5 separate regions of the Homo sapiens genome follow, and regions 1, 3, 4 and 5 are each linked to region 2. Evidence: promoter capture Hi-C in human tissues and cell types (Jung and others, 2019). All regions are on one chromosome and are shown on one strand. Each heading gives the region's core, a stretch centred on a gene start or on the middle of the fragment in contact. The rest is flanking DNA. Distances are from core to core; before and after follow the strand shown.

What was found. Contacts are between HindIII fragments. The study calls those that stand out against the background at their distance.
Region 1: a fragment that was not itself captured here is called in contact with the fragment with the promoter of LZTS3 in region 2 in 2 of the 25 tissues and cell types used here (IMR-90 fibroblasts and hippocampus).
Region 3: the fragment with the promoter of GNRH2 here is called in contact with the fragment with the promoter of LZTS3 in region 2 in 5 of the 25 tissues and cell types used here (IMR-90 fibroblasts, dorsolateral prefrontal cortex, heart left ventricle and 2 more).
Region 4: a fragment that was not itself captured here is called in contact with the fragment with the promoter of LZTS3 in region 2 in 3 of the 25 tissues and cell types used here (H1 embryonic stem cells, dorsolateral prefrontal cortex and mesendoderm cells).
Region 5: a contact is called between a fragment that was not itself captured here and the fragment with the promoter of LZTS3 in region 2, in 2 of the 25 tissues and cell types used here (dorsolateral prefrontal cortex and hippocampus).

The regions. Positions count from the first base shown.
Region 1 is chr20:3,375,188-3,379,694 of GRCh38, reverse strand. DNAAF9 (dynein axonemal assembly factor 9) reads left to right here. Exons shown (of 37, transcript NM_001009984.3): 4 at 3,393-3,517. Among named protein-coding and RNA genes, the nearest start is that of DNAAF9, 30 kb to the left of the region's middle. The HindIII fragment of the contact is 5,967 bases long and covers 1-4,482 here.
Region 2 is chr20:3,171,819-3,177,041 of GRCh38, reverse strand. LZTS3 (leucine zipper tumor suppressor family member 3) reads left to right here and starts at 3,493. Exons shown (of 5, transcript NM_001365618.1): 1 at 3,493-3,587. It overlaps LOC107985414 (a long non-coding RNA gene), which reads right to left and starts at 3,352. Exons shown (of 2, transcript XR_001754477.2): 1 at 2,852-3,352. RefSeq lists a silencer at 3,270-3,609. The HindIII fragment of the contact is 8,589 bases long and covers 93-5,223 here.
Region 3 is chr20:3,041,191-3,046,448 of GRCh38, reverse strand. It overlaps GNRH2 (gonadotropin releasing hormone 2), which reads right to left and starts at 2,827. Exons shown (of 4, transcript NM_178331.2): 1 at 2,784-2,827; 2 at 1,881-2,041; 3 at 1,613-1,749; 4 at 702-763. The coding sequence starts at 2,034. The coding sequence ends at 713. MRPS26 (mitochondrial ribosomal protein S26) reads right to left here and starts at 397. Exons shown (of 4, transcript NM_030811.4): 1 at 169-397; 2 at 1-76. The coding sequence starts at 380. RefSeq lists a silencer at 1-755 and an enhancer at 856-915. The HindIII fragment of the contact is 17,170 bases long and covers 1-5,258 here.
Region 4 is chr20:3,307,369-3,312,139 of GRCh38, reverse strand. All of the region lies in intron 20 of DNAAF9 (dynein axonemal assembly factor 9), which reads left to right. Among named protein-coding and RNA genes, the nearest start is that of SLC4A11, 71 kb to the right of the region's middle. The HindIII fragment of the contact is 8,715 bases long and covers 1-4,771 here.
Region 5 is chr20:3,323,664-3,328,364 of GRCh38, reverse strand. It overlaps DNAAF9 (dynein axonemal assembly factor 9), which reads left to right. Exons shown (of 37, transcript NM_001009984.3): 13 at 2,081-2,168; 14 at 3,397-3,473. Among named protein-coding and RNA genes, the nearest start is that of DNAAF9, 82 kb to the left of the region's middle. The HindIII fragment of the contact is 9,834 bases long and covers 1-4,701 here.

The sequences.
Region 1 (4,507 bases), core at 250-2,749, 200 kb before region 2:
TTGGAAAGCAGAGATCACCAAATTTCTACATTTTGATCTCATATGAGAGGGGGAAAGGCCAACATGAATTTACTTCTAAAAGCAACTTTTATTTATTTATTTATTTTGAGACAGAGTCTCGCTCTATCACCCAGGCTGGAGTGCAGTGGTGTGATATTGGCTCACTGCAGCCTCTGCCTCCTGGTGGAGTCTCCTGCCTCAGCCTCCCGAGCAGCTGGGATTACAGGCACCCGCCACCATGCCTGGCTAATTTTTGTATTTTTAGTAGGAAAGGGATTTCACCATGTTGGCCAGGCTGGTCTTGAACTCCGCTTGCCTTGGCCTCACAGTGTTGGGATTATAGGCATGAGCCACCGCACCAGCCTAAAAGCAGCTTTTAAATAGGTTACGTATTCATCCCATTCTCATATGCTTTCCTCTTTTACCTGACTGTAAACTCTGTTAAACTTTGGTTCATAGTGATAACACCAGAGTTCTAAGAGATTTGGGGAATGCTTACTTTAGGTTTAGTAACTACTATGTTATGTCTCTTACGGGATCCTAATTCTTTGAGGCATGTTACATTTTACTGTAGAGTATAATACACACCAGAAGCCCTCAGTCTTCAGGTAATAGCCAACTCTCATTCCTCTGCAGGTGGTCTACGAATGACTCAGGGAAGGGCTCTTGGAGGGAGTGTGTGAGAAGGACCAATATGCTGAGAGATGAGAGGGGCCTCCATTCCACCTTTTGCTACCCTTTGACTCTTGTGCTTACCTAAAGAGTCAATAGTGATGAGGCTGCTACATCCTGTGTTCCCTGGAACACCCTGGGCCTTACAGGCATGGGGCTTAGAGTGGCTTAAAAGGTCAGACCCATGGAGTTTTATTTCAGGAGGCCACTCAGCTGTGTGGTCAGATGTGGTCAGTATTTATTGGGCTTATAAGATGTTTTTGTCAGGTGTGGTCTGTCACACTGTATTACCCTTTTGACGTTGTCCTACACCTGCTGCATCAGGTGTTCTCTGCCCCTATGCGTGTGCCTTTCTTACCTCTGACAGCATCTAGTTCCATCTTGTTAGGAGGCCTAATGGCTCTTGTTTCTGAGGAGCCATAGAATGGGGCCTCTGGTTTTCTTCTGGAAGTATGACTGCCTTTGTCCTCAGTTGTCAAACTGCTTTAATATTCTACTCCATCCCATGGCTCTTCCATTTACCTAGGTTTATTTGCATTCTTGGGATTGCTTTATTTACTTCACCCATGAGCATTGAAGACTATTCCTTAAATCTGTAAGCTGCTGATCTATTTATAGAAGCTCTTTCCACTGGCCTCTACTTCCTTCCTCCCAGTCTTTCCTGCGTACAAAGCTCACCACTGCACACAATAACTCTTCCTAAAGGGACAAGCAGTATCGTTGGGCCTGCAGTTGCCTTAGAGCCAGATGAGCCAACAGCTGAGAGCTTTAGACACTGATGTCTGAGGGACAACTAGTCACTGGCCATATTTGGTGCTGTTTCCCTGCCTCAGTGGCCTTAGGCTGTGGGGTTTCCATATGGTATTGACCTCTGCAGTGAAGTACTCAGCTATGTCTGGTCCCATAGATGTGACTATGTGAACACTATGCCTCAGTAGATGGAGGCTGTTCTTTGACTCGTTCTGCAACTGCATTGCCAGACCCAGAGGGCCATGGTAGGGGGAGTATTGTTTGGGGACTAGGAAATTCTTGCTGTCAACATTTGAAAGTTCTAAAGTCACTTTGAAGCTGTAAACCAAAAATAAAATTCTAAGCCCTCCAACCAATTGAATGGACCCCCTTGTTGGCCAAGGGCATTCCAAAGTAAACTTGAAAAACGAGTTCAAGCCAGGATAGGAAGTGGAGGTTGGCAGTGCCTCATTATGTCCTCTTCCTTTTGGAATTCAGGCATAACTGACCAACATTAACATTAAAACAGAGATCTTGGCCAGGTGCAGTGGCTCACACCTATAATCCTAGCACTTCAAGGCCAAGGTGACTGGATCACTTGAGCTTAGGAGTTCGAGACCAGCCTGGGCAACATGGCAAAACCCTGTCTCTACAAAAAAAAAATAAAAATTAGCCAGGCATGGTGGCGCTCACCTGTAGCCCCAGCTTCTTGTGGGGCTGAGGCAGGAGGATTGAGCCTGGGAGACAGAGGTTGCAGTGAACCTATATCATGCCACTGCACTCCAGCCTGGGTGACAGAGTGAAACCCTGTCAAAAAAAAAAAAAGAAAGAAAACAGATCTTAAGACCAACCAAATTGCTGTTGTATAGCAGTAAGGTACATCACATAGCAGATAGCAGACCCTGAAAGAAATCTAAGTATTTTATCCCAAAATATACTCCTTTGACATATTTTTAAATGGTGCTGCAAAGCTGTCTCTTGTCAGAGAAATCTACATTCTGTAGAGAATCCCTTTCACTTTCCAGGTCTTTTCCTGATCCAGGGGAGATCAACTAAGAATCTGGTACCTTTTTAAGTCTGATAAACATTTACCTTCTATTGTTTCTGAAGCCTGCTACCTGGAGGCTTTACTTGCATAATAAGAACCTTGGTCTCCACAACCGCTTATCTTAGCCCAGACATTCTGTTGATTCCAGGTCTGTATTTATTTTTATTTTTATTTTTTGAGACGGAGTCTCACTCTGTCGCCCAGTCTGGAGTGCAGTGGTGCAATCTCAGCTCACTGCAACCTCTGCCTCCCAGGTTCAAATGACTCTCCTGCCTCAGCCTCCTGAGTAGCTGGGATTACAGGTGCGCGCCACCACACCCGGCTAATTTTTGTGTTTTTGTTTTTAGTAGAGACGGGGTTTCACCATGTTGGTCAGGCTGGTCTCAAACTCCTGACCTCGTGATCCATCCGCCTCAGCCTCCCAAAGTGCTGGGATTACAGGCGTGAGCCACCGTGCCCAGCCCTGATTCCAGATCTTTAGGTAATAAAACTTAACTCTTTCAACCAATTGCCAGTCAGAAAATCTTTGAATCCACCTATATGACACGAAAGGACCCTTTCACTCCTGACCCCGACTTTCTGGACCAAACCAAATGTACACTTTACATGTGTTGGTTGATGTCTGCTGGTAACTTCTGTTTCCCTAAAAAGTCTAAAATCAAGCTGTTATCCAGCCATTTTGGGTACATGTTCTCAGGACCTCCTGAGGGTATGTCACAGGCATGTCCTTAAACTTGGCAAAATAAACTTCAAAATTGATTGAGACTTGTCTCAGATACTTTTTGGTTTACAAGGCACAGTGCTTAATTAAATAATTTTCAGTTTAGAGTTTTGTTACATTGTCTCTGAAGTAGTTTCAATGGTTTTACTAATTATGTGGGCAGAAAATATCTAAAAGAAATGTGTTTGACAGTCTTGTGTTTTGATTTTGTTTTTCTTACAGATGTAATTATATTGATTAAATCGGATAGCGTCCATCTGTACTGTAATCCTGTAAACTTTCGCTATCTCTTACCTTATGTGGCACATTGGAGAAATCTGCATTTCCACTGCATGACCGAAAATGAGGTAAGAAGAAAAGAGAAGACAGGCACCTAGAGACACTCTAAGAATACTCTTTAAGGAAAGTGTTGATCTGAAATAGGATCAGCAATCAAATTGCAGAGTGTGACTATATAAAAAAGATTATCTGTTTGAAGTGGAGAATTTCATATTTCGTTTTGAGGCTACCTTATAGATAAATTGTATGCCTGTGGAGACAAAAGGAGGCTGTTCAAATTGGGACCTAGTGGTAAGTTTATGAACTTAACTTTTTGCCTGCTTCTTCATCACCATCCTGAATCCCATCTCTTAGGGGATTAGTGCCTAGGGACTGCCCTGGGATTTTTTTTTTTTTCTGGGACGGAGTCTCACTCTGTCGCCCAGGCTGGAGTGCAGTGGCACAGTCTCGGCTCACTGCAACCTCGACCTCCCAGGTTCAAGCAATTCTCCTGTCTCAGCCTCCCGAGTAGCTGGGACAACAGGCACCTGGCTAATTTTTGTATTTTTAGTAGAGACGGAGTTTTGTTACATTGGTCAGACTGGTCTCAAACTCCTGACTTTAGGTGATCCGCCCACCTCAGCCTCCCAAAGTTCTGGGATTACAGGCGTGAGCCACCATGCCTGGCTCCCTGGGAGAATTTTTTAAGCTTTCTGACATTCCTGTGTTTGAATGTCTTGGTATCTGTTTTTCTTTCCCTTTGGGCCCTTTTCAGGGGTTTGACTGGAAATCAAGTTTGGATTTGAGATTTAGGATTTCATGAAAGTTGTGACCTGATACTGGTCAAGAACACTTCCTCCCATATGAGTATTTGGCGGAATTTTTTGGGGGAAAAGTGTTATCTCTTGCATTTAGGTTTCCTGATCCATTTCAGTTGATTTTTGGGTATAATATGAAATAAGGGCATAACAAGTCTTTCTGACTAGCAAATGAAAAAGGTTGGCTTTGGAAACACCTCCTTGGGTGCAGTCCTCTGTAAATGTCATTTGGGACAACTCTGGTTGACAAAATGCAGAGAA
Region 2 (5,223 bases), core at 2,244-4,743:
AACAGCGCAATCTCAGCTCACTGCAACTTCCACCTCCTGGGTTCAAGTGATTCTCTTGCCTCAGCTTCCCGAGTAGCTGGGACTACAGGCATTCACCACCACAACTGGCTAATTTTTGTATTTTTTGGTAAAGATGGGGTTTCACTAATGTTGGCCAGGCTGGTCTCAAACTCCTGACTTCAGGTGATCCACCTGCCTTGGTCTCCCAAAGTGCTGGGATTACAGGTGTAAGCCACCATGCCCAGCCCAATTTTTAAATTTTTTTGTAGAGACAGGGTCTCCCTATGTTGTCCAGGCTGGTCTTGAACTCCTGGGCTCAAGCCATCCTCCTGCCTCGGCCTCCTAAAGTGTTGAGATTATAGGCGTGAGCAACGATGCCGGCCACCAGAACCTTTTTTGGACATATTTCTTGGATGATGTTTTTAATATCTTTGTTATCCTTGTAATTTTATTTCCCAGAAAATGAGCCCCTTTATCAAGGTTTTCAGGGCCGGGCACGGTGGCTCAGTTCTGTAATCCCAGCACTTTGGAAGGTGGAGGAGGGTGGATCACTTGAGGCCAGGAATTCGAGACCAGCCTGGCCAACATGGCGAAACACTGTCTCTACTAAAAATACAAAAAATTAGCTGGGTGTAATGGTGCACGCCTGTAATGCCAGCTACTGAGACTGAGGCAAAAGAAGCACTTAAACCCGGGAGGCGGAGGTTGCAGGGAGCCAAGATCATGCCACTGCACTCCAGCCTGGGTGACAGAGCAAGACTCTCTCAAAAAAAAACAACTTGTGTGATCATTAATCAGCAGGTGACAAATCATCTTAAGCAACAACAAAACAAAACAAAACAAAGTATTGATTAGTTCACTGAACTGATGAACCTAGATACAAATAGTCTAATCTCAGCACTTTGGGAGGCCGAGGCGGGCGGATCTCAAGGTCAGGAGTTCGAGACCAGCCTGACCAACATAATGAAACCCCGTCTCTACTAAAAATACAAAAATTAGCCCGGCGTGGTGGTGGCACATGCCTGTAATCCCAGCTACTCAGGAGGCTGAGGCAGGAGAATTGCTTGAACCCAGGAGGCGAACGTTGCAGTGGGCTGAGATTGCACCATTGCATTCCAGAGGGAGACTCCATTTCAGAAAAAAAAAAAAAAAAAAAAAAAAAAAAAGTCTAGTTCATAGTTGCTCTGAAAGAAAGGAAGGGGATTGCATTAGTTATTCATTCAATAGTTACACACTATGCTAGAGTTTGTGTAAATTTTAAGTGAGACTCTGTCTCAAAAAAACAAAAAAGTTTTCATATGCATTGGACCAGAGTCAGATATAGATAGTATTCTCTTATTTTCCTGGTGTTCTTTTAAAGATGCAAAACCACATTAGTCTATGAAATAGGAATGGAGACTACAAAGAGAGATTAAGTTGAGATCAAGACAGAGGTGGAATGGAAATTGGCTGAAAGAAAAATAAAACAAGCAGAATCAAATGTCTTATTGGAGAAAATAAACAGTACTCTTGGCTCTGAAGAAAATTAAATCCGTAATGGTGAAGAAAAACTTGATATAGTCTCCCAGGGTGCAGAGAAAACAAACAGATTTATTTGACATTGGTGATCCAATGTGATAGTTTTAGAGGAGAGGAAAGAAAAAAACCCAAATCTTTTCACAGAATGGACAGGAAGAAAACTTTTCTAAGCTACAAAGAAGACCTCTTTTGTTTCTGGAAAATTAATAGATAAGGCCCATATTGATTTATACTGGCAAAATGTTTGACTTTTGAGGGTAAAGAAAAACCCTTGCAAGCACCAAGCAAACTGCTGACCTTAAACAGACAAACCCAGCTTTGCATTTTCAGTGCCAGAAGACAATGAAATAAAGACAAGAGTTTTGAGGGGGAAAGCTTGAGACTCAAGAATCCTATAAACAGGAAATCATTATAAAGGCATTCTCACCTAAGGCAAAGGCTTAGGAAATACAACATTCCAGAGTCCTCCCTGAAATCACCAGTCATGTGAGAGATGGGTCCAAATGAGGAATAGAAAAATTAGAGCACAAAAAACCGGCAGTAACATTGAAACCAATTAAACAGAGTTGGCAAAAGCCAAAAACAAGGATTGAAAAAGAATGTTGTGGCTTAAAAAAAAAGTGTAAACAAAAGTTAGGTCTGTCGTCCTGATTAAGTGGACAAATATAAGTAGTGAGGGCGGCAGGTAGGAGGCAGAAAAGCACACAAAATTTCTCATGGGGGAATATAAAAACGAATTATTTGTCACTGACTTTACTAATGTGTGAAATGTAAACTATTTTCATTTGATAAATCTAAAGGCAGCCGCGAGAAGAATTAAAAATACTTTCTGCCTTGAAAATCACGATAGAAGATAAAAGCAAATGTGGGAAAATTCAGAAAACAGGAATAAATAAAAACTATAGAATACGAAGTCGTAAGACCAAACACAACACCTATAAACAGCAGAGACGTAATGCGTTAAATCCCAGCCAGAGCAGAGGCGCTGCAGTTCTTAGGGCAGACCCTGGTGCCTCCAGGCTTTTGCTAGTGCTAAACTCTCGGCTAGGCTTGCCTCCCTACCCTATTCAAGGCTGAGGCCTCAATTCAAGGCCGACTCCCTCCTCCCGGCAGTCCTCCCGGGCCGCCCTAGGCTGAGTGAGCACTCCCCACAGTGAACGCTGCCCGCGCGGGCGAGGCCGGCGCTCCGGGTCCGGTACGAAGTCCCACCTCACTCCCTCTCACCCCGGGTTACAGCGTGTGGTCTGGGGCCACGCGTTACGCCAGGCGCGGGGCACAGGGTGAAAGCGTTCAATCCTGCTGGAGTGTAATGTGTATTTTTTCCCCGTCGCACCTTCCAGACGGTGATCCAGTGTGAGCAGCAAGTTTCAAATCGTCTCCGTTTGGTCACGAACGGAGTTTACTGCCCCTCGACGCCTCCCGCACGACAGCCCGTGGTCCTCGCGCCCGGGCGGGTCGTTGCTCGGCCGGGCGGATCCACCCGCGACGGCTCGTCCCGACCCCTCCCTAGCGGACTTGCAAGGTCTCAGGGCGTCCGCTGGGAGGCCGCGTCCCGAAGAGCTGGCGCGGGAGAGGAATGGGGCTCGGGGCTCCGAGTCGGGAGCCCCTTCCCCCAAGCAAGAGGGGCTCCTCCTCCTCTTCCTAGACGTGGGATTCAGGGAGGGCGCGGTTCCATTGGATTTGTTGCAGAGGAACGACTGGGCCTGAGCCCAAGCCCAAGGGCCTGGGGGGTAACGAGCGATGAGCAGAGGGGCTCGCGGCGGACTTGCTGCGCCCTAGAGAGGGTGAGGCTGAGGGGTCCCACGCGCGGGCGGGGCGCAGCGACGAAGGGGTTAAGGCGCCTCACCCCGCCCCAGCCCGGGCATTGGCTGCCCTGGGGGGCGTGGCCGGAGGGCGGGCTCGCGTTTGCCGCAGCCGCTGGTGGGCGGGGCTCGGGCGGGGAGCAGGAGGGGCGCGGAGCGGAGCCGGGCCCGCGCAGCGCGCCCCGCCGGGCGTGCTTCGGGCTGCGCCAGCAAGCGGGGCCGGTGGCGCCCGTGTCGGAGACCCCGCGCCGGACCCTGAGGCAGCGAGTAAGTGAGGCAGGCCCATCGTGGCATCCCTCCCGGCTCCGACCTGCCGCCGTGCCTGCTGCACTGCGCGGCATGTCTGACCTGACCCGGACTGGGTAGGGGGCGCGTCCCGCTGCTAGGGTCCCAAGGGGGAGGGGAGCGGAGAGGAGGCGGATGATGTCATGGATGCTTCGCCCGGCCTGGGGGGAGGTGGCGGCCAGAGGGGGTGCGGCTCGGATTATGTCACCTCTTCCCTCTGCGCCCCGCCCCCCGGGGCCACACGCGTTGGTGGGGAGCCTGGGGAGGTGCGGGCGGGGTTTCCCCCATCGCAGGGACTCCCAGGTCCTGTGGCCTGTGGCTGGGGTCTCTATCAGTTGGCTCTGCGGGCCGTGGGCTGCTGGTGAATGGCGACCCCCCCTCCCACCCCCAGCAGAAGCTCGTGTGTGCGCGCGTGTGTGTGCTCGGGGTGGAGGGGGCGCTCTCGGCCCCCTCAGTCCTGAAACACTGGCTTCATCAGAGCCAGTAGCTAGGTGATGGGCCCATTCCGCTGCCAGTGCTTAGGCCACCGAGGGAAGACGGATCTCCCCTCACTCATCCCAACCAAGAAGTTCTGGATATCTCTGCACCCCAAAAGCCCTGCAGTGCCCCCAGATCCCTTTCCTCCCTCAGTCCTGCTTCCTGGAAACCCCTCCTGCTCTCCCTGCCCGGATTCACTGCCTCTTTGCATTGCCCATAACTAGCATTCCCACAGGCATTTGCCCTGCATTTCCTTGGTGCAGGGCCCAGAGACCCCCAGGACTCTGCCCTCTGTGCTCCTGGGAAACCTATAGGCCAGCCCTGGGGAGGCCTCAGAGTGAAATCTCCCTGGGGTGTCCTCAGCCAAGTGCTCCAAGATGCCCCCTCTGGGGGGTGGAGATCAGGGATGCTGTCCTGAGGCCAGCCTTTGAACTGGTCTAGAAGCATGTAGGATGGGCACAGAGAGCTGGCAAGAGCTTGTGTGTGAAGTAGAGAGGGGCTCAGGTCAGGGTAGATAGAGGAGGGGCATCAGGAGAGTCCTTGGGGACCCTGCTGCAAGCTCTGCTCTGGTTCTGGGGACCAAGAGGAATACCAGGCATTTCACCCATCATACATTTACTTCTTAAAATGCCTGCAATGTAGGTGTGAGAACCCGAGGTGAAATAACCTGCATGAGGTTGCACCCCTAATCAGTCAAGCTGGGATTTACACTTGGAGCTGATGCTGCCAGAACTCTGTCTACTGCACTTGGTCTTGCTCATGGAAGGATTTGGACAGAGCAGGGGCAAGATCAGCTTTGCCCTTTAGAAGGAATCCCCTGGCAGCTGCCTGGGGGAGGGAGTGCAGGAGAAGAAAGTCCATTGAGGAGCCCCCAGCAGGGGTGCTGGATGGAGGGGCTGGCTAGAGATTTTTAGGAGATAGAATGGGCTGGGGTTGGGGCCTCTGAGACCCCAAGTGTTCCTAGCTTTGGGAGAGACACAGGTTGAGGGGTGGGTTGGAGGTACCTGTACATGTAACTGTCAGGTAGAGTCCGTTTGGCCCCCTCATGACGCTAATACTGTGTATAATGCCCCAGGCACTGAGGGCTGAGGTGACAGAGATCGAGGCAGTCAGGCAACAGGCTGTCATCTCAGGGTGGTGC
Region 3 (5,258 bases), core at 1,578-4,077, 130 kb after region 2:
CAGGGCCTTGCGCTCCGCCAGAACCCCGGCTCGGGCCTCGTGCACCTTCCTCTGCACCTCGGACACGAACTCCATCCTGGGTGCAGACGCGCCAGGAATCAGCACCCTCTCCGCCCACTCCCACCGTCACCAGCGCGCGCGGGCGGCCACCTCCCCCCGGCCGCACACCTGAGGGCGCGCACGGTCTGGCGGTAGTGCTGGTAACGCTCCATCAGCACGAAGAACTCCGCAGGGTCCACCGCGGGCGGCATGTTCACTCGCTCGATCTTGGATTTGGCCAGCGGGTCGTGGCGGGTCTTGCGGCCGCGCGCTGGCAGCACCAGAGGGGCCCGGGGCCTGCACGGGGTCCCCGCGCCCAGGCGGCTCAGCGCGCGTAGCATGGCCGAGTCTCCTCACTGCGGCCGCGGTGCCGGGACGCCACCGTGCCCCGGAAGCGGCGCGGGGAACCTTGGGACCTGTAGTCCTCGGGCTGTCCCTCACGCCCCGCCCGGCCGTGTGGCCTCTGGAACCGAAGCGGCGACCCTGCGGACGTCCGCATCCCGCCCCCAGGCTCTGGCCCGGCCTTCCCGCCAGGGCCCGGGGCCATCCCTTAGTTACTCCCGCCCGCGGGGCCGGACCCGCGTCCCTCCAGCCCCCACGCAGGGAAGGGTCTCAGCGGGGAAGACAGGGAGGGGACGAAGGACAGAACTCGACGCAACAGCTTCGGAGAACCTCACACTTTATTGGAGGATGGCGGGGCGGGGCGGGGCTCTCGGGCTGCGGTCTGCGGAGGGAGAGGTGGCGGTCATGTCTCAGGACACTGGTCTCGTAACCGCCGAGCTGCCATCTTCCTGGTTCTCTCCCCTCTCGTCCCCCCCAGTCCCCATGTGGCCTCCCACAGCAGGACGCCCCCCGCCTCCCGTAGAAGCCTGAGGATCCAGCTAGTGTGGGGATCTCCAGCTCCCTTGGGCATGCCCTCTTGTCCACCCTAAACAAGCCTGACGCATAGAAACCTCAGCACATACACACAAATCAGGCGGTAAGACATTGCCTCATAGGAACTAACCACTTTCTTCTTTAGTTACCGGGCTCTCCTGATGCACTGTAAATGTTTGATTTGCAAAACAGTAGCAAACCATTTCCCCACGCCTGTCTTCTGCTATGGTCTTGGGGAGCTCTGCAGTCCCTGAGATGTTCCTAGTGCACATGTCAGTCACCACCTGGTCCTCTTGGCCCTGTTGTCTGTTTGAGTGAGGTTGCATCCCTCACCTCTTTCCACTGGCCTGGGGTCTGTCCACCTCAAGACAGTCATTGGCTTGTCAGGATGCCTGTGGGATCCCATGGCCACCACTGTCTTATAGAACAATTATCTCCTTCTAGTCTACTAGTGACTTTGGTCTTTAACCCAAGTGCTTTGTAAATTGTCTAGAATCCTCCTGGGAAATAGGAAGGATAGCAGACAGCACCCTGCTGTGTGCAGTAGGGGCACTGAGAAATGGCTGGGGGTGCTGTGGCAGGGGGCATCTCAGTGGTGTTTCATTCTCCCCACCCTCCCAGCACCCAACCCTAAGCCACAATGGCCTCTGATGACCAGTGGCTGGTCTTGATGCTGGGGACCTCTCACCCTACTCACCAGCAGTGTCCGTGCCAGGTGTCGCTTCCTGTGAAGGGACCACTGGGCCGTGGTCCTGCCCTCCCAGGGCATGCTGTCGTCCAGGGGAGCCAGGGCATCACTTGGGAGGCCATGGGCAGTCTGGACTGGGCTGCCTGCTGCAGTGTCCAGGGCCCTTCCTTAGAAGGGAACTGATGCTGTCCTCCCTACCCCGACCTCAGGCTCCAGGAGGGTGGGGGAGCCCCCGGCCATCACTTTCTTCCTCCCCATGAGGCTGGGAGACACCCACCTGGGGGCCTAAGGGCATTCTGGGGATCCTGGGCTGAGCTGAGGGCTCGCTTTCCTCCAGGGTACCAGCCATGGGACCAGTGCTGAGCCTCTGAGGGTCCAAGGTGGGCAGTCAGCAGCAGCAGGAGCAGGAGGCCTCGCCTGGAGCTGGCCATGGCTGCTCTAATGGACAGGGTACAGCATTCAAGGAGACTTACCTCACCCCCACATCCCCCTACTTCCTCCAGGGCCACTTTGGAAAACTGGCATCTCAGGGGCAGCTTTGGTATCTCCTTATGCCCTTCCCTCTCTGCCACCGCTCCTCATCCCAAGCATACAGGGGTCCAGATCCTGGGGGATCCTGGCCCAGCAGGGGATGATGCTCCAGGGGACGAGCCTTCTCCCTGAGCCTGGGGCACAGAGGCTACCTGCCTTGCCAGCTCTGAGGGCCCTCCCACTTGTCCAGGTCCATCCATCTTTCCTTCAAGGAGTTTCCAGAAGTGGAAGAAAGTTGGAGGGGAACAGAGACCTGAATTCAGGCCAATGGATGGGAGGATAGATGGATGGTCAGGGGAGTTCTCAATGTAGGCGTGTTTGGAGCACCAGTGCTAGGGAACCAGAGTTGCAGGCCTTCTGCCCTTTTCTCCGTGGCCTGCTGTATCTCTTCCATAGTAGTTGGGGATGTGGAATGGATGAGTGGTATTGATGGGGGCAAGTGCTTCTACCCCTTATCCCTCCCATGCCAGGGGCAACAAGCACAAGAATAGATGGTAGAGCTGTTGGGGAGAGGAGAGGAAAAGGGGACTTCTCTGGCATGGTTCAGGGGTGGAGGCACCTGGGAATGGGGAAGAGGAGCAGCACACCATACGCCCAGGATGAAACTTGGTCCAGGTGTCCTAGCCCTTAGGGAAGGCTCCCCACTCACCAAGGAAGAGCTGTGGATGAGATGGCTCCTTCAGGCAGCTGCAGGACCCTAGCCTGATGGCCCCAGGATTTATAGACCAGGCAGCTCCACCCCCAGACTCCAGTGACGTCTTCAGAGGGGAAGAGAGAAGCTCACCACCCAACCCGCTTCCCAGAGCATCCAGTCCATGAACATTCACCAGGCAGCTGCTGCCCTGAGGCCACCGACACATGCTCCCTCCCCACCACCTTCCCAGGAGCCTTCAGGCCCAGGACTCTTGCTTTAGGCTGGCCTATGTCCTGGTCTCACCTTCCCACTTCCCAGGCTGCATCTTCAAGCTCCTGATCTTGAGACCTAGAAAGCCCTCACAGCCTTCCCTGATCCCAAAAGAGAATTGTGTCCTGGGCAGGGGCAATGCCTGGGGGCTCCCCAACTCCCAGCTCAGGGCTTTCCCTGGTGGACAGTGGAAGCCTAAGAGTAGGGAGCCTGGCAGGCTGTTCAGAGGTACAGGGGAGGCTGTGACCACTCTCCCAGAGGGCTTCCGTTTGCTCACTGTAGAGTGGGTTGGGTGGGACAATTCACATCCACACACCTGGGAACCAGGGCTGGGTCACTCCAGATGGCTGGGTTTGGGTGGGGCAGTACCTACCCCGGAGTGGCTTCTCTCCTGGCGAAGAAGCGGGCCCATGAGATGGGGCCCAGCTGTTGGGCCAGTGCAGTCTCCCTAGGTAGGTAGAATAATTTTGTCCCTCAAGGCTCTAACCCCTCCCCAGTCATGGATTTGGACACAGCTAGCCTGGGCTGCTGGAAGTGGGCTCTTGCTTCCCAGTCTGCGTCAGCAGCTCAGCTTTCCTTGGCCAGCCATCAGCCTCTGGGGGTCAGAGGCCTGTTTACAGGGTTCATAGCCAATCTCCGCACTTGGGCTGAACAGCAAATGGGAGGGCCAGGGTCATTTGGAGAGCTGGTGCGTCAAATCCTGTGACAAAGATGGGGGAGGGGAGGCATAATGGGCATCAGTCAGCCCTAGACACCTGGACTTCAGCAGCCAAGGCAGGATGGGCACACCTGTGAACTTCCAGACTGACTTATTAGCAGGGACCGGAAATCAACGTGTGGCCCATTTGTTCAGTTAAATTGTTTTGGCTTAAATATGCGGACTTTGTTAACTGGGTGATTTTTAGGGAAACATTTGCTTGTGGTTTAGTGAAAATGAATCTGAGTTCGACGTACTAGTTTAGTTCTGGTTGGGGTTTACAGAATGCTTTCTTCAAAGATGCACCAAGGCTGGTGTACCTTTAAAAGGGGGATGGTTGCCTTTATTTATTCTGTAATTTGATTCCGGCTTTTCCTGAAAAATCTAAACCAGAGCCAAGCTTCCTGGGGAAAGCTCTGCTCCCTTTTTTTTCCGGCAACATACTTAGCTTTTAAGAAATGTTTGGTCCTTTCCAGACTAGAACTGTGGAACTCTTGTATCCCTCTCATTAGAACATAGAAAGCCATCTGTTCACCACGGAGCTCCAGTCCTCAGGATATGAAGTCACTGCAGCCAGGAGCTGCGTGTACTCAGGTGGGAAAGCAGAGGTTCAGAGGTGAATAAACACTCAGGTGCTGCAGGAGCACAGAGAGGCACAAACCCTGAGCAGGCGGCCTGGGTGAAGGACAGAGACGAGTGAGCTGGAGTCACGGACGCAGGGAGTGGCAGCAGAGGGGTGCAGCATAAGGAACAAAATGGAGAAGGGCCAGCAGGAACTGCCGTGGATCCATGGGGCCAGAGTATGTGGGAAGGTTAGAGGAAAGGAGGGCGGGCCCCTGGGTGTGGGCAGTGGGAGGCAGGCATCTCTGGACCACCCTGACATGCGACCAGGATGCGGGGGACTTGGGATTGGAGGAGAGCTGAGGGTCCACAGAGACAGATCCAGAATCCTGACCTCTGAGAGAGGAGACAGTGGAGGAGCAGCTAAAGGGTGAGGATAAGAGGCAGAGGACAGCCTGTGACACAAAGGGGAAGAGACCATGGGTCCCTGGTGTTTAGCACCAAGGTGACCTTGGTGCGCAGGGATGGAAAAGAAATGTGTGGGAATGAAGTGAGGAAGGGGGAAGAGTGAGAACACAGGTTTCTGCAAGTAGTCTCTCATAGAGGGAAGAACTTAGGCCTGGGGTGGGAGACATGCTCTTTATTTAATTAATTAATTAATTCTTTTTCTTTTTCTTTTTTTTTTTTTGAGATGGAGTCTCGCTGTCATCCAGGCTGGAGTGCAGTGGCGTGATCTCAGCTCACTGCAGTTTCTGCCTCCCAGGTTCCAGCAATTCTCTTGCCTCAGCCTCCCCGGTAGCTGGGATTACAGGCACGTGCCACCACGCCCGGCTAATTTTTGTATTTTTAGTAGAGATGGTTTCACCATGTTGGCCAGGCTGGTCTCGAACTCCTGACCTCAGGTGATCCGTCCGCCTTGGCCTCCCAAAGTGCTGGGATTATAGGCATTAGCCACTGTGCCC
Region 4 (4,771 bases), core at 2,059-4,558, 140 kb before region 2:
ACGCATGCCTGTAATCCCAGCTACTCGGGAGGCTGAGGCAGGAGAATCGCTTGAACCTGGGAGGCAGAGGTTGTGGTGGGCCAAGATTGTGCCATTGCACTCCAGCCTGGGCAACAAGAATGATCTCTGTCTCAAAAAAAAAAAGAAAAAAAAGAAAAAAGAGAATAGTGCTTCCTTTACCTTGAAGTTTTTTTCAGCTCTAGAACTGTTTCTCTTCACCAGTTAGTGGTGTCTGCTATCACAAGATGTCTTGCTTTTCAACTTCCCATTCATTCGTGTCCTTCATGTGCCCTTCTCTTCCCCGCCCTGCTGTCTGTGGCCAGGCAGGCTGCCCAGTACCTAATCCTCAGGAACCTGCTTTAGAGTTTTACCACACATGCCTATATACCTAGACAATATCTTATTTTGAACTTAATACAAATAGAATCATAATGTAGACCTGCTTTTTTTGCTCAGTATTCCTAGGATTCATCCAGTTTGTTGTATGTAAGCCATATAGCTTACTCATTTTCATGGCCCTATAGTATTCCTTTGTATGAACATGCAGTATCATTTTGACTCTTTGTGGACATGTGAGTTATAGTTTTTGTGCTAGGTGCAGTGGCTTGTGCCTGTAATCCCAGCTTCTCAGGAGGCTGAAGTGGGAGGATCACTTGAAGCTAGGAGTTCAAGACCAGCCTGGGCAACAGAGTGAGACTCTTGTTTCTACAAAAGAATTTTTTAAATTAGCCAGCATCTGTAATCCCAGCACTTTGGGAGGCTGAGGCAGGAGGATTGCTTGAGCCCACAGTTCAAGACCAGTGAGACCCCATCTCTACCCAAAAAAAAAAAATTAGCCAGGCATGGTGGCATATTCCTGTAGTCCCATCTACTTGGAAGGCTGAGACTGGAGGGTGGCTTGAGCCCAGGAGTTCAAGGCTGCAGTAAGCTATGATCTCACCACTGTACTCCAGCCTGGTTGACAGAGCAAGACCCTAACTCTAAAAAATAAATAAGTAAATATAGGCTTTTTTTGGTATTGCAGACTGTACTGTTATGAGCATTCTTGTGCATGTCTCTTGGTCCACATGGGCAAATGTTTCTGTAGGGTTGGAATGAAGAGTAAAAATTTGGAATTTTAGTATGAGCCCACATATGGCTTTTTTTGATGAGGCCAGACTGTTTTACAAATTGATTGTCCCAAATTATACTTCCAGCAGCAGCATACAGGTATTTGAGTTTTTCCATATTCTGGCCAACACTTGCTGTTTTGCCAGTTTTGCCACTGTGGTGAGTGTGCAGTGCTGTTATTATTAGGATTTTAATTTACATTTCTCTTATTATTAGTGAACCGTCTTTATTTATTGGCCAAGCTATTATACTTCCCTTCTGTTAAATGCTTGTTCTTGTTTTTTGCTCATGTTTCTTTTAGATTGCCTTTTTCTTGTTTATTTTAGGAATTTTTTTTTTTTTCTTGAGACTAAGTCTCACTCTGTTGTCCAGGCTGGAGTGCAGTGGCGCAATCTCAGCTCACTGCAGCCTCTACCTCCCAGGTTCAAGCAATTCTCATGCCTCAGCCTCCCGAGTAGCTGGGACTACAGGCGTGCACCATCAGGCCCAGCTAATTTTTGTATTTTTAATAGAGACGGGGTTTCGCCATGTTGGCCAAGCTGGTCTTGAACTCCTGACCTCAGGTCATCTGCCCACCTCGGCCTCTCAAAGTGCTGGGATTACAGGCGTGACCCACTGCGCCTGGCCTATTTTAGGAATTCTTTCTTTCTTTCTTTCTTTCTTTCTTTCTTTCTTTCTTTCTTTCTTTCTTTCTTTTTCTTTCTCTTTCCTTTCTTTCTTTCCTTTTCTTTTTTCTTTTCTTTCTTTCCTTTCTTTCTCTTTCTTTCTCTCTCTCTCTCTCTGTTTCTCTCTCTTTCTCTCGATCATTAGTTCGTTTGTTCATCTTTCTTTTCTTTCTTGATGGAGTTTCACTCTTGTTGCCTGGGCTAGAGTGCAATGGCACGATCTTGGCTCACTGCAACCTCTGCCTCCCAGGTTTAAGCGATTCCCCTGCCTCAGCCTCCCGAGTAGCTGGGATTACAGACATGCACCACCATGCCCGGCTAATTTTGTGTTTTTAGTAGAGGTAGGGTTTCTCTATGTCGGTCAGGCTGGTCTCAATCTCCCGACTTCAGGTGATCTGCCTGCCACAGCCTCCCAAAGTTCTGGGATTACACGTGAGCCACTGCGCCCAGCCAGGAATTCTTTATAGATTTTGGATACTAATTCTTTGTCAATTCAGTATATTGCAAATATTTTCTTTCACCTGGTGGCTTGTCTTTTTATTTTATTTCTGATGCTTTTTCATGAATAAAAGTTCTTAGTTTTAATGTAATCAGGATAATTAATCATTTCCTATGTGATTCATATATTTTAGATCTATTGAGACTTTTCTGTTGAATTATAAAAATATAATTTTTCAAAGAATCCACCTGGATTGCTCTGTGAAAGTGATATGAGATAGAAGTCTAAGTTCATTTTTTAAATGTAGGTAGCCACCTGTCTCAGCAAAGTTATTGAAAAATCATTGTTTTCCCACTGATCGGCAGTGCCAGCTTTGTTATAAATCAAGTCTCTTTATGTGTGCATCTATTAATAGGCTCTCTGTTCTGTTCCATTGGGAAAGAAAATAACACATTGTCTTATTTTAGATAGATAACATATTTCTATATGGTGACTTAGTCTGCTTGGGATGCCATAACAAAATACCACAGAGTGAGTGGATTAACAGTAGGAATTTATTTCTCACAGTCTGGAGGCTGAGAAAATTATAACACTATACTAAAAGGCATTAAAAATGACATAAACACACATCCCATTCATGGACTGGAAAACTCAGGTTTACTTACTTGACATGGTAAAAATGACAATTCTCTCCAAAGTGATCTTTAAATTTAACATAATTTCAGGAAAAAAAAAACCAACAAGTTTTTTGAAAATCCTGAAAAGCCAACATAAAAATGTCAATAACTTTGAGCAAAGTGCTAAGAACAGCCAAGATACTCCTGAAGAAGAAAAACAAGGTGGGAACTTGCCTTATCACATTAGAGACTGAATGTTTGTGTCCTCTCCAAAATTCCAGTGTTGAAGCCTTAACCCCAAAAGTGATGTTATCTGGAGATGGGGCTTTTGGAAGGAAATAGGGGTTAGATGAGGTCATGAATGTGGGACAAGGTCTGTTGGGATGTGGTGCCCTTATAAGAGCTACCAGAGAGCTTAGCCCCTACCATGTATGCATGGAGGAGGAGTCATGTGGGCATGTGGCACCACACCTGGCTAATTTTTTTTTTTTTTTAGTAGAGATGGAGTTTCACCATGTTGGCTAGGCTGGTCTCAAACTCCAGGCCTCACGTGAAGCTCCCACCTCAGTCTCCCAAAGTGCTGGGATTACAGGCGTGAGCCACTGTACCTGGCTGGAGGGAGCCACCGCACCTGGCTGGAGGGACACTTTAAAAATGAAGGTTTTGGTCTGGCACGGTGGCTCACACCTGTAATCCCAGCACTTTGGAAGGCCGAGGCGGGCAGGTCACCTGAGGTCAGGAGTTCGAGACTAGCCTGGCCAGCGTGGTGAAACCCCATCTCTACTAAAAATACAAAAATTAGCTGGACCGTGGTGGCGCATGCCTGTAATCCCAGCTACTTGGGAGGCTGAGGCACAAGAATCACTTGAACCTGGGAGGCGGAGATTGCAGTGAGCAGAGATGGCACCACTGCACTCCAGCCAAGGCAACAGAGTGAGACTCCATCTCAAAAAAAAAAAAAAAAAAAGTAAAGTTTTGTACAGCACTGAGCATGAAGGAACTGTATAGCTGCATATTACTTGTAACATAGGTCACATTCAGGAACAGAATGTCAGGAGAAGTAAGCAAGTCACAGAAGAATACATGATTAGGATTTCATTTATATAAAAACACAGACAAAACTAAGTAATACACAGTTTACAAATACATTCAAGTGTGGTAAAACCATCCAGAATTCAGGATGCTGTTCCCCCTGGGTGGAAGAGAAGGGCTCTCATTGAGGAAGGACATCCAGGGGGTTTCAACGGTGCTAGTAATGCTCAATTTCTTAGGCCCAGTGGTGAGTTCATAGACATCTGGGTTTTGTAGTTGTTGCTTTAGTTTTTTTTTTTTTTTTTTTTTAAACCTTGTGTGTACATTTCACACACATTTATAGACACAGGATGAAAATCATCTAGCCATTGCATCATAAATTTCCCCAGCAGTGATAAATGTTCCCTCCTCACATAGACTGGGCTGTTGGAAGATTTTTATTTGTACAGCCAGTTTTCTGAAAGAGGAAAGCGAAATTCTTCTTTGGCATTTGCTTGGTATTTTGGTTTACCCTGAGGGCCCATCCCTCTTTTGTTGGACTTCCAGGGATACAGAGCTCAATCAAAGACAACCAAACTGCAGTCCTCCTGGTTTTGGGACAATAATGGGAAACTTCCTCTTATCCTGGGTTTTCAGACTTACAGAATGGAGAAGGAAGGACAGAGTTCATCCACTAAGGACACCAAGGATGGCACAAAGAGTCAGGGAGATCTCCTCAGGAGTTGGCTGCCCTGGCCCCTGTGAACCCCTGCAAAGGTATGGCCCTCAGACCACTGTCTGACAGTCAAGAGTCCAGAGCAGATACCAGAAGGGTTATTGCTTCAAGCAGATGAGGATCTGAGACCAGAGCACAGGCACTGGGCCACCCAGTAAGTCACTTCACTTATCTCATGTGTGCTCTGAGAATA
Region 5 (4,701 bases), core at 2,117-4,616, 150 kb before region 2:
ACTAAAAATACAAAAACTAGCCAGGCACGGTGGCAGGCGCCTGTAATCACAGCTACTCAGGAGGCTGAGGCAGGAAAATCGCTTGAACCCGGGAGGCAGAGGTTGCAGTGAGCTGAGGTCGCACCAGTGTACTCTAGCCTGGGTGACAGAGCAAGACTCCATCTCAAAAAAAAAAAAAAAACAGAGCCATGCAGGCTTTTTAATTTTATGGGTCAGCGGCCATGTGGCTTGTGTATTGATCTCCTATGTAAGGATCAGTATAGGAGAAGACCAAGCAAGGGGAAGGCCTGACCAGTGTTGGTACCGAGTGATGTTTGAATCAGCTGAGGAGGGGGATATCTTTGCATGTCTTTGGGTTTGGCATCTTTAAATGCACCCTTAGTGTCAAAGTGTAGAGGATTCTGGTCTCACCTGGAAGGGGCCAAGCTCATTCACATCTCTCTGCCAGGCCCCTTCCAGGGTATACCCTCTGCCCTGCCCTTGCCTGGCCAGAAGTCTTCAGGATATGTTGATACTTGGAGCTGACATGTCATGTCCTGCATGTGGTGCAGGAGCCAAGGAGGAAATTGAAGGAGGTGGCAATGTGATGTGGCACAGTGGAAAAGCACCAGGCTGAGAGCAGATCTGAGTTTGGGTCAGCCATGAATTTTCTGTGACTTAATAGACAACATATTCCACTTCCAGAGGCCCTTATTGCTTCTTCTATAAGATGAGAGGATTAGACCAAATCATTTCTGTGTTTTTTCCCACTTTCAAACTCCTATCACCTTCCTTTACCTGATTCCTTTACAAGATTCTTATGGGCTTAAAAATAGACACATTTTTAGGTGAGACCTTGTCAGTTCCTTGCCAGATGCCTCTCCTGGCCTTTCAGGGACCCTTGGATGAGCCCCTTCTCTTCGTAAGTGTCCTAAGAAGAGCCTGCACCTCCTTCCTCCAAGGCAGTGGTTCTCAACCAAGGGCAATTCTATTGTACCTCCCTCCCCCATCTTTCCCCACTCCCAGGAACATTTGGCAGGGTCTGGAGAAATTTTTGATTATCACAACTGGAATGCTACCAACATCTAGTGGGTAGGGATGCTGGTTAGCAGCCAGGGGTGCTGCCGAACATCCTACAATGCACAGGACAAACCCCCACAGCAAAGAATTATCCAGTCCTAAATGCCAAGGTGGAAAAACCACCTTAGGTGGTTCCCTGAAATGAACCAGACTGGTTTTTCTAGGGACCTTCGTGGCAGTCCATTCTGGCAGAGAAAAACCCAGCCCTTCCTCAGTCTGGTCATCTCTCTTCTCCCGCTGAGGTCTCCTACCCGGAGGTTCCAGTAATAGACCAGCCTTCAGCAGGTCTAGTGAAAAGACGATATGAAACTACAGTATGATTGGTCCCTGGGAAAGCAGCAAGTGGGTATGAGAACACTGAAGGAATTCCTGCTCTGTAGGTAGCTGTTCCTGCACATAGAGGAGTCAAGGAGTCTACACAGTTTTATTCTGTTTGGTTACAAACAGGGAGGGGCAGTCTCTTGAGCAGAATTCAGAGGAGCCGACTTTCCTTAAGGTGATTTAACAAAAGCAAAGTATAAGTCAAACCAGGGATATGACTTTTTTTTTTTTTTTTTTGAGACAGGGTCCCACTCTGTCACCCAGGCTGGAGTACAGTGACACAGTCTTGGCTCACTGCAGCCTCTTCTGCCTCCCAGGCTCAAGTGATCCTCCAGCCTCAGGCTCCTAAATAGCTGAGAATACAGGCACACACCACCATTTCTGGATAATTTTATTTTTATTTATTTTTATTTTTTGTCGAGATGGGGTTAAGTCATGTTGCCCAGGCTGGTCTCAAATTCCTGGGCTCAAGCGATCTGCCCATCTCAGCCTCCCAAAGTGCTGGGATTACAAGCCTGAGCCACTATGCCTGGCCCAGGCATGTGACTTTTAAAAGGTTTAGAAATCAGTGGGTTATATTTTTGCCTTTTTTCATTCTGTTTAAAAATCAGTTTCTTAGGGGCTGTCATTTATGTGCATGCATCTTTTGACAAAAACCTCATGATGCTGTAATGTTAACCATTATTTTTTGTTTTTAAAGTAGGCTATTGTCCCAGATATATGCTGCTGTTATTGAGGCTGTTTTGGCTGGCATTGCATGTTATGCTAAAACTTCCAGTCTAACAAAGGTAATTTAAATACCATGTTTCCCTTTCTGTAATTATTATTTTAATGTAAAACATTCTATCCATGTGTTTCTTCTTTGGACATCTTGTAGTACTCACTTTTGTGCGAGCTTGGGCCTCTTTGACACCAGGCAGAGAGAAGCCCTGAGAGCACTGAGCTTCTGCTGCCTGTGACTGTGCTGCTGTTGTCTTATGGATGACAACTAATCGGTGCTTCTTTGTAGACATCTGGTTGTGTTAAGGAAAAATCATTCTGTAGCACATTGTTTTGTTGAATAGCTTAAACAAAAGTCTTTTAAAAGCTAAAAAAAAAAAACCAAAAAGACAACTTTAGATTATTCTACTGTGAAATCTAATAAAGTTTGGTAAGTTTGATTTCCTATAACTCAGTGTTTAAAAAAAATAGCTAAAGATTAGAAAATCTGACTTGCTTTTCCTAGACAAGCACATGTGTTCCCGTTCTCTGACCATTATCTTCCTTGCTGTTTTGCGGTTAACCTGCCCTGCTGAGTTGGATTCCTATATCTGACCCAGTAAGGAGATGAGAAGAGTCAGCTTGATGCCTCCCAAATGCCAATAGGACCTTTTCTGAAGGAAGCCATTTGACATTGGAAAGGTTGTGTATGATGTAGATATCAGAGAGACTGTAGCTGTAGTCACCAGCTCCTTGCCATCTCCCCTCCTCACTGAACTTGTATCCCTGGTACTGACTCCGGATTTCTCAGCCCTTTAGCCACTACATGCAGAAGGCTTATCCAAAGCAGTGGGGTGTCCTTCAATATCAGTTCTCACATCTTTGTTTTTTAACTGATCTTTTGTAACTCTTGCTATTTGGATATTCTTAGCATCTGGCTAAAACTCTGAGGGCAGAGGTTCCTTCCCAAGAGCCAAGGAAGAGGGGAGGAGAAAGCACTTTTACAGACCTCACATTCCACTGCTGTCATCACAGCTGGTCACTTCTCTGGATCCAGCACGTCAGGTTCCAGTGCACACCTGCCTGAATGCAGTTTTGTCCTGTAAACCTAGCCTGGAGAAAGCAGGCCCTTCTTTCCCTTAACATGATACTTTCACTTTAATCTATTCATGCCTACCAAGTAGTCACATAGATGGGAAGGACACACTGTAGGGCATGGTGTGATCCTGGACAAGTGTTAGGAGGGCCCTTCCATCAGTGATATGTGTACTTTTTCCTGCTGTGAAAGCTAATTGTCGCTGTCTTATTATTTTACAGGCCAAGGAGGTAGCAGAGCAAACTCTGGGATCTGGGTTAGATTCCTTTGAGTTGATTCCGTTTAAGGCAGCCCTGCGGTAAGCAATGGCTGATATTTTTTATAAGGAATTTTTTTTCTTCGTTTTGGAATATTCTTTTTTCCCTTATAATTTAGATTTCATCTCCCCTTTGAGAAATGTTTCAGTAAAATAATGGGATGTGTGAAGGAGAATCATTCATGATTCAGCCTTCACTTAGAAGCCAAAGAGCCAAAGATGCAGGAACTGTTTGAGAAAGTCACACACATGTTCTGAGGTTAGAATGCAGGGCAGATTAACACCAGCATCACAGGAGATTTGACAAGCCTGGGTTCCAAGGCTAGAAAGGCAAAGCTGGGTACCTGAATGGTGAGGTTTCTAGGGGCAGAGGGCCCTGGGCACAGGAAGATAGTCACTGCTTAGAAGAAACTTGCACTGGGCCTCATCTGTCTCTTGAATGACAGAAACCCTGAGCCTGGCCGTGTCCTGGGGTCTGCATCATCTGAGAATCTGGTGATTTTTCCATCACATCTCCCAGCATGTCACGGTGGTTGTTATCCATAGCTAAATCTTCATGAACCCAGTCCACTTAACCACTGTTTCACGTGAGGACCATTATGTGCACTTTTATACAAAGGATACAAAAGACACCAATACTGGGGAATTTATTTAAGAATACTTCTAGGATGTGTCCTGTGATGCCTCAGGTCTATGTCCCACATTTTCTTAAATCTATAGTCCTGTGTAATAAGAGAGAGTATTTGAAAGATTAGTCAATTAATTGGTCTAACAAAAAGAATTCTATTTCTGCAGCCCCAGGAGTGGAAGAAAGAGCCAGAACTCTGTGGTGCAGGGCTTTAGACTTGCTTCAGGTCTTCTTTCCCCTGGGTCTTCTGGATCTTGCTGCCCTGGCCATGAAAGGGAAAGGATAAAGGAAGTTTGTTCCCTTAAGACCTTGTGCTGCCCTGTGCTATCTGTTTCTGGCCAACCTGAATTTGAGAACGCTTCTTCAGTTTGCATCTGTGTGACCTTGGGCAAGATAGGAACTGTCTGTATCTGCTCCTTCAGCTACCCACCTTGTAAAGCAGTTGGGCACATAGATGTTAGCTGCTGTCACAGTGGGGTATTCTCTTACCATCAATATGGCTGGCATAGTCATTCTACTTCTCCTTTACTTGGGCCCTTGCCTAGGCCACTCAGCCTCCCCAGAGCAGGCCCCCTCTCAGTCCCAAGGCCTCCTAGGCCTAGGTGTCTGCCCTAGCTGGAGAAAGGCACAAGAAGAAAACAC